Regions from separate parts of the Homo sapiens genome. Here region 1 is linked to region 2. Evidence: promoter capture Hi-C in 16 types of primary human blood cells and fetal thymus (Javierre and others, 2016). All regions are on one chromosome and are shown on one strand. Each heading gives the region's core, a stretch centred on a gene start or on the middle of the fragment in contact. The rest is flanking DNA. Distances are from core to core; before and after follow the strand shown. Region 1 overlaps MED24 (mediator complex subunit 24). Region 2 holds the start of RAPGEFL1 (Rap guanine nucleotide exchange factor like 1).

Region 1 (4,096 bases), core at 137-2,636, 150 kb before region 2:
CAGTGGCGGCGGCGGCAGCCAGCAGCAAGTCCAGACTCTTCCCGGACAGCATGTGGCCCAGGACTCCCAGCAGTCCCTCCGGTGACTTAGAGTGGTCTGCATCCATCGTCTGGGGACAGGACAGGAAATCAAGTCCTGAAGAACACTGAAGACCCCCCACCCAAGATACAGCCTAGCCACATTTTCTCTCTTCACAACCTGGAATGTAATCTACATCTTTCTGACTTCAATCTGGAAAATCATTCCTAAAACCCACCCCTGCTCTCCGATCCATCCCTCTCATCTACACTGGCATGCAGGTGGTAAGGTTGGAGTGGGCAAGGTCACGGCTAGGATCTTCTCTGTCCTTTCCTTTTTTAGACAGAGTCTCGCTCTATCGCTGAGGCTGGAGTGCAGTGGTGCGATCTTGGCTCACTGCAACCTCTGCCCCCCAGGGTTCAGCGATTCTCCTGCCTCAGCCTCCCAAGTAACTGGGATTACAGGCATGCACCACCACACCCAGTGAATTTTGTGTTTTTAGTAGAGACTGGGTTTCACCACGCTGGCCAAGCTGGTCTCAAACTCCTGACCTCAAGGGATCTTCCCACCTCAGCCTCCCAAAATGCTGGGATTACAGGCGTGAGCCACCGCACCCACGTCTCTGTTGTTTCCATGTGAGATGGCCTAAGTGAAAGCGCCTACTGCAGTGCCTGGTGTACAAATGAAGCTCCCACGGGTTAGCATTCAGTGGTAGCTGCCCTTGCCTCCCCTTTCACTACCTCCAAAGCAACTATGTATAAAAGCTAAAGGAGACAGAGGTCTGTGGCCTCTGTTTATTTATCTGCAAGCAGATGGAGCACTGGAAAGAAGAAAGAGAAGACTGTGGTGGCCAGGGAAGGGCACACTCACCTTGAGGATGTTTGTGACAGTGGGCTCCGCCCGGAGGATCAGCTGGATGTTGGGCTGGATGTTGGCATTCTCTCCCGATTTCTGCTGGGGTGCGTGCTCTCGGTCCGCTTTGCTGTGGACATCACCAGTTGGCCAAGGAAGGGAAGAGGAATGAAGAGAAATTCTTGACACGTTCCCTCGTTCAAGCCCGGAAGGAAATGCGCAGAGGAGGTGGGAAGCATGTAAGAACCTCCGAGGTTGGGGTGAAGTTTATGGAAGCATAGTCAATGTTGCAATCACTGATTTAGCATTAGTCTTTTTTTTTGAGACAGGTCTCACTCTGTTGCCCAGGCTGGAGTACAGTGGCACGATCTCGGCTCACTGCAGCCTCTGCCTCCAGAGTAGCTGGGCGCTCACCACCACGCCTGGCTACTTTTTTGTATTTTTAGTAGAGACGGGGTTTCACCATGTTCTACTGGTCTCAAACTCCTGACCTCAGGTGATCCACCCACCTTGGCTTCCCAAAGTCCTGGGATTACAGGTGAGCCAGCACACCTGGCAATTTATCATTAGTCTTTTTTTTTTTTGAGACAGAGTCTCGCTCTGTCACCCAGGCTGGAATGCAGTGGCGCGATCTCAGCTCAGTACAACCTCTGCTTTCCGGGTTCAAGTGATTCTCCTGCCTCAGCCTCCTGAGTAGCTGGAATTACAGGTGCATACCATCGCGCCTGATTAATTTTTGTATTTTTAGTAGAGATGGGGTTTCACCACGTTGGCCAGGCTGGTCTCAAACTCCTGACCTCGTGATCCACCCGCCTTGGCCTCCCAAATGCTGGGATTACAGGTGTGAGCCACCGCAGCCGGCCTATCATTAGTCTTAAATGCTCTGAAAGCACATTTAAGATTAAAGGAAGATTCAGGATTTTTATTTATTTATTTATTTTTTTTTTGAGACAAGGTCTCACTCTATCGCCCAGGCTGGGGTGCAGTGGCATGATTTCGCCTCACCACAATCTCCGCCTCCTGGGTTCAAGCAATTCTCGTGCCTCAGCCTCCAGAGTAGCTGAGATTACAGGCACACACCACCACGCCCAGCTGATTTTTGTATTTTTAGTAGACATGGGGTTTTGCCATGTTGGGCAGGCTGGTCTTGAACTCCTGGCCTCCAAGTAATCCACCCGCCTCCAGCCTAGGATTTTTACTTTTATCACAAAGATGGGTATGAGTTAAAGAGCAGTGACTAAGAGTGTAAAACTCTGGTCTGAAGACATCTGTGCTTTCTTTTCCTTCCTGTTCCCTGTACCCCCAGGCACGGTCCCAGTCACTTGCAGCCCAAACTTTCGACAGGAGGTTGAAAGGCACGCAGCAGCCCCACCGTAACAAGAGAGAGGTCAAGGGGCTCTTGGGGTAGCACAGGTGCGTTCACACTTACCGCTTAGCCATAAGGTTGTTGACGCTGGCCTCAGACAGAAGCCCCTGCTTGCCACATTCTTGGAGCAGGAAGTTTGTACAGTCACAGCTGTGAGGGAGAAAGATGCTGAGGGAACTGGGCACCTGGATAGGATGGTGAGGGGTGGGAGTGGCAGGTCCCTGAGCAGCATCCTCCCTCTTTCAGGATGAGGAAAATCTGGAGTGCCTGAGGGACGGTAGAGGGGCTCTGGGGACTTGGCAACTGTGGGCTCCTATTTCCTGCCCCTGCCAAGGGGAGTGAACAAGGAGACAGAGTCCCCTGAGGCTTCTCTGGCACAGAGATCAGGGGAAGAGCCCAGAACGCCTTCCAGTAGGGCGGGGGTGACCAGGGGAGCTCATACTTGCAGCGCTGGTCAGCTTTGTCCAACAAGGGGGTGAGCTTCAGCAGGAACTCAAAAGCACAGTTGACATCCTCAGTGAAGTCCTAGAAAGAGGCAGAAGTGTCCATCTGGTTTCCAGGGCCACCAGGCCCTGATCATCTCAGGCAACCTTGTCTGCTGGAGGCATCGGCCTGAGTTGCCTGGCTGCTTTCTGCCTGGAGCCTGGGTGTATGTTGTGGGTGCACGCAGACGCTGAAGCACACACACTGGCTGAAGCACACGTACACGCTGAAGCACACACACGCTGAAACACACACACTGAAGCACGCACACACTGAAGCACACGCACATGCTGAAGCACACGCACATGCTGAAGCATGCACATTGTGAAGCACGTGCACGCTGAGGTGTACACTCACATCCGGCTCTCTTCCAGGCATGAGAACACTGCCCAGCTGGGGCCTGAAGGACCCTCCCCTTTGCCCTTATTTCTGCTCCCATGCCTCCATCTCAATCCCCAACTCACCTTGTCTCCATGAGAGTACTTCTTCAACTTCACCAAAACCTGTGGAATCTAGGGGGTGAGGCAGGGGGAAAAACAGGAAGATCCATTTCTTTTCTCTTTCATCTACCCCTGAAGGCATCCCCCCGAACCCCTGCTCCAGGAAGAGAGACAGGAACACTCCTACCCTGGGAGTGAGAGCACACTTAGTGCTAAATGAGAAAGCCAATAGGTGCCCAGGCCCCTGATGCCCCCAGGCCTAGGCACAGGACACAAGCACCCTGCACCTCCGCTAGCTCAACAGAAAAAGATGCCATAAGCAAAAGTGGATCCCCAGCTTCAAGGAGGACTGGGGCCCCTTTCCCTGGCTCCCTTTACTGCCCTGCACCTATCTGTCTGATGACCAAGCTAAACTGCACCTCTGTGGTAAGAAACAACGGAGTCTGCCAAATGGGCTAAATATAGCCCTGGCACTTTCAGAGAAAATGATCAATGGGAACTTGCACTGGAATACCTGGCAGGCTGGGCCCAGTGCCCGCAGGGAGGAACACAGGGCAAAGGTCCAGGGTGCCACTGGTCTTGCTAAGAACCATTCCTAGACTGGCTCTGCCCCTCCCACGTCCCCAGTACCTTGAGGAAAGTGAAAGCTGTCCACTTGAGCTCCTCCGTACCCTCGGGAGACTCAATGAGCCCCACGAAGCAAGCTTTCCAGATCTCCAGGACAAAAAGTGGGGTGGGGATATGCTGTGGGAAGAGCCAAGGATGAGGCCTAAGAGGGTGCCCATACCCCGTCACCCTTCTGTGGACTCTGAGGATTTGGCTGGGTCAGAGACTGCATGGCAGAGTCACTGCTCAGCTATGTGCTGAGAACCAGGGGAGTAAGGTCCAATGACAGAAGTGTGCACGACTGGCACCCACTTTCCATCATGGAGCAGGA
Region 2 (4,026 bases), core at 119-2,618:
AAATCCTGCCCAGAGAGAAGGTTACCAAGGCAACCGGCTTAATCTGGTAACTGTGGCATGTGCTGGGAGAGAAGCCCTTCCCTCTTCCTATTCAGTTCATAAAATGCTACCTGGGGAGCTCCAACCCATTCCAGCCACTTTCCCCTTTCAAGCCAGGGGATATTGGAGTGTCCAATAAGGGGAGCACAGGAAGCTGATACTCAGACCTCTAATACAGCTTCTTAGCCAAAATTGTGCGCTGTCTTCTTTTTACTGTTTCCAAATCCACAAACAGATGGGTGTGCAAAGCTTTATTTCTGTGAACACATGCTCTAGCACACATGGGAACAGATATGCACATACATTGATACGTATGTCATACACACCCTGTTCAGTTTTACTACCACTCCCAGCCATTAGCATTCCTGTCTCTGCCTGGTTGGTGCTCGGTAAACAGGGGTGGGGCATTGTCCAGAGAGCCTCAACCCATCGAGAACCTGCTGCCACTCCCACACCTTGTAAGTCTAACCTGGATGTTCTCACACTTAGCATGGCTTTACGATGCACCCCCCTCCTCCCCCACACTCCTTCTGGGGCAGCATATCCTTAAGGACAGAATGCTCCTGGTGTGGGCATCAGGAGTAAGGATTACTTGGAGTGCTAATTGGCACCACTTTTCCCACTCCATGGCCATGTACACTTGGGCTCTGTGCTTGATGATAGTCGGCAGTTCTGGGGCTTGTCACCTGTCTCCATGGCCCTGCTTCCTTCTGCTGCCAGCTGGGCTCAGGTGCCCTTGTGCTCCTGGTCTCCTCCCCACTGCCTATTATCCCCTCCTCACCCCAGCTAGACCTGCCACAACCTGCTGCTCCCTGCCTGGCTCCTACCTGCCTGCCAGTACCTGCCCACAGACCAGGCCCACACCACCTATTGTGCCCTACCAGAGAGGACAGATGGGCACCGCCTCCAGTGGCAATGCTAATTCACCCAAGAGGCCTTCCCAGCTCTTCTCACAGAAGGAAGATAAACTCCACATATTTCTGTGAGTATGAGAAAGGTGCACACTCTTGGGTTCAGCAATCTGTAGGCCTGACTTGGGTACACAGGTAGGTGAGTGAAGGTGTCCAGGCCACAGACCTGTCCTGACTCTTTGAAATGATGCTGAGACCCGGTTATCCCTTGAGCCAGGAATCCTTCCCCATTGGTAAATCTCTGACTTACCTTTGCCCTTAATTTCTTCTGCTTAGAACCCAAGTCCCTTACTGTTTCCCTCGCGGTCAACCCCAGCGCGCGAGTTCAAGCCTCGTGCGGCGCGGGGGCGAGCCGAGGAAGGGTAGGGGCGGGGACTGGGCGGGGACTGGAGGAGGGGGCGCGGTCTCGGTTCTGCCACCTTCCCCCTCTTCACGGCCAGGAGCGCAGCCGCCGCCGCCGCCGCCGCCGCGTCCTCTCAGCCTTGCGCTCCGCCCGCTGCCTCTGCCGCCGCAGCGCAGAGCCGGGCGCACCGGCCCCGCAGCCTGCCCACTCTTCGGGCCGCGTGCCGGCTGCAGCCGGCATGGGGGGTTGCTGAGAGCGAGCACTCCTTTCCTCTGGCACCTCCCCCGGCTACTGGCCACTGGACTCTGGCCAGCGAGGCTCGGCCCCTCTGGCCCCCAGTCTGGCGCCTGGCACGGCCCTCTACTCTGCTCCTCCAGCTCTGAGCATCGTGTCTTCGCCGCCCCCCCCGCCCGCGCCTGGGATACCTGGGTCCCCCGGCGACCCCTAGGAGAGGGGCGGGGGGGGGCATGAAGCCGCTGGAGAAATTTCTGAAGAAGCAGACGTCGCAGCTGGCGGGCCGAACGGTGGCGGGAGGTCCCGGCGGGGGTCTGGGGAGCTGCGGTGGGCCTGGAGGGGGTGGGGGACCCGGCGGGGGCGGCGGTCCAGCCGGGGGACAGCGGTCGTTGCAGCGGCGTCAGAGCGTGTCTCGCCTGCTGCTCCCCGCTTTCCTCCGGGAGCCCCCCGCCGAGCCGGGGCTGGAGCCGCCCCCTGAGGAGGAAGGAGGAGAGCCGGCGGGGGTCGCGGAGGAGCCGGGCAGCGGGGGGCCCTGCTGGCTGCAGCTGGAGGAGGTGCCGGGGCCCGGGCCTCTCGGGGGAGGGGGGCCCCTGCGCTCCCCTTCCTCCTACTCATCTGACGAGCTGTCCCCAGGCGAGCCCTTGACTTCGCCGCCCTGGGCCCCTCTGGGCGCCCCCGAGCGGCCCGAGCATCTTCTGAACCGGGTTCTGGAGCGGCTTGCTGGAGGGGCTACCAGGGACAGCGCCGCCTCAGGTAAGGAGCCGGTGGGCTCGAACACCCAGAGCAGGGGCTGGCCCCGGCTCCTCTTCCTTGCCCTTGGAGCGTAGGGGTGGCGCCGTGCCGGGGCTTGGTTATAGGGTTGAGTGGTCCGCGGAAGCCGGCTAGGGGCCTAGCGGAGGTACAGACCCTCCCGCGGAAGAGGAGAGCAGTACTCACCTTCCTCCCTACAGCAGCCTCACCCTCGTCTGGAGAAGCAGCTGAGCCTCTTACTCTCCTTCAGCCACCCTTCCTTTCCCCTGGGCATTGGAGCCACTGACTCCCATGGGTCCCTGATGTTGAATACCTCCTCCTGTGGCCCCAAATTAGGGCCTGACACATTAAAATGGGAGCTGCCCAGCGCAGCCATGCCACCCGCCAGAGGTGCTTTAGCCCTGAAAACCCTGGGGTCCCTGACTGTTCAGAGGCCTACACAGCGCAGGCTGACCCACCCAGGGAGGCAGTGCCAGACAGGCACAGGCCCCAAGCTGCCTTTTAGGCATCAGCAAAGGGATGCGTTGTCCTTAGCAGTTTGGTGGGGGGGATAGTATTCTCCTTGGGCTGGACTCAGAAGGTGTCTGGGAGGGGAGAGGTGGCTGGGCCGGCATCATGGCCCTGCAGCATCCAGGGTGTCCAAGCGCCTCCAGCTTCCACCCTTCGGTGGCAGGCCTCAGCACCCGGCTTTTTTTTTTTTTTCTTTTGGAGATGTAGTCTCACTGTCACCCAGGCTGGAGTGCAGTGGCGCCATCTCAGCTCACTGCAACCTCCACCGCCCAGGTTCAAGCGATTCTCCTGCCTCAGCCTCCTGAGTAGCTGGGACTACAGGCATGTGGCACCACGCCTGGCTAATTTTTGTATTTTTAGTAGAGACAGGGGTTTCACCGTGTTAGCCAGGATGGTCTCGAACTCCTGACCTCGTGATCCACCTGCCTTGGCCTCCCAAAGTGCTGGGATTACAGGCGTGAGCCACTGGCCTGGCTAATTTTTGTAGTTTTAGTAGAGACGGGGTTTCGGGGTTTCACCAACTTGGTCAGGCTGGTCTTGAACTCCTGACCTCGTTATCTACCTCCCCCCACCCCCACCCCACGGCCTCCCAAAGTGCTGGGATTACAGGCGTGAGCCACCGGACCTGGCACACGGCCTCTTTAAAATATAATCACCACACCCTGAGAAGCTTATTCCCTAAATGATGATACTATTTCACCACTCCCTTTCAGCACCCCTACTAAGGGGCCTTTGAGGAAACCAAGGCCCCAAATCTGGTTAGTTCTGAGGTAGAAGACCGAGGGTTCTTTAGGTCTAGCTCTAGGCATTACTCTAAGCCCAGGAGGGTCTGAGGTTTGGGAGCCCCGGCTGAGGCCCTAATGGTGAGGGCTTTCACACTTGCTCTCAGCCCTCGGCAGGGAACCCCAACCTAGATGTGTGGAGGGGGGCTCCACTCTCCTAGATCCTTCTCAAGACCTGGGTCCTCTCCTTTGGAGCAGGCTGTAGTTGCCCTGGGGAGCTGACACCTTTTGGATTTAATTAGAAAAATATCAGACACACACAGCTCTCCTAACCATAACTTCCCGCCTACACCACACACCCTGTGTCTCTATGACACATTCCCTAGGGAGGCTGTACATTGGCCCAGAGCCTGCTTTGGAAAAGACAGATGCCCAACTGTGGCCCCCATATCAGCATCTCCCCAACTCTGCCCCATCTTACTCTTCCTTTGCTCCAGCTTAGGAATCCTGTGAGATA

The links. The method cuts DNA at HindIII sites, captures the fragments that hold promoters and counts their contacts. A CHiCAGO score of 5 or more calls a contact.
Region 1: a fragment that was not itself captured here is called in contact with the fragment with the promoter of RAPGEFL1 in region 2 in 16 of 17 cell types (megakaryocytes, M0 macrophages, M1 macrophages and 13 more); the score reaches 13.9 in megakaryocytes.

The regions. Positions count from the first base shown.
Region 1 is chr17:40,028,860-40,032,955 of GRCh38, forward strand. MED24 (mediator complex subunit 24) reads right to left here. Exons shown (of 26, transcript NM_014815.4): 9 at 3,790-3,903; 10 at 3,184-3,231; 11 at 2,679-2,761; 12 at 2,300-2,386; 13 at 889-1,000; 14 at 1-109. Among named protein-coding and RNA genes, the nearest start is that of SNORD124, 3.3 kb to the left of the region's middle. The HindIII fragment of the contact is 4,950 bases long and covers 1-3,861 here.
Region 2 is chr17:40,176,102-40,180,127 of GRCh38, forward strand. It overlaps RAPGEFL1 (Rap guanine nucleotide exchange factor like 1), which reads left to right and starts at 1,369. Exons shown (of 15, transcript NM_016339.6): 1 at 1,369-2,280. The coding sequence starts at 1,761. RefSeq lists enhancers at 248-748, 749-1,249, 1,641-2,497, 2,498-3,352 and a silencer at 1,281-1,410. The HindIII fragment of the contact is 3,169 bases long and covers 287-3,455 here.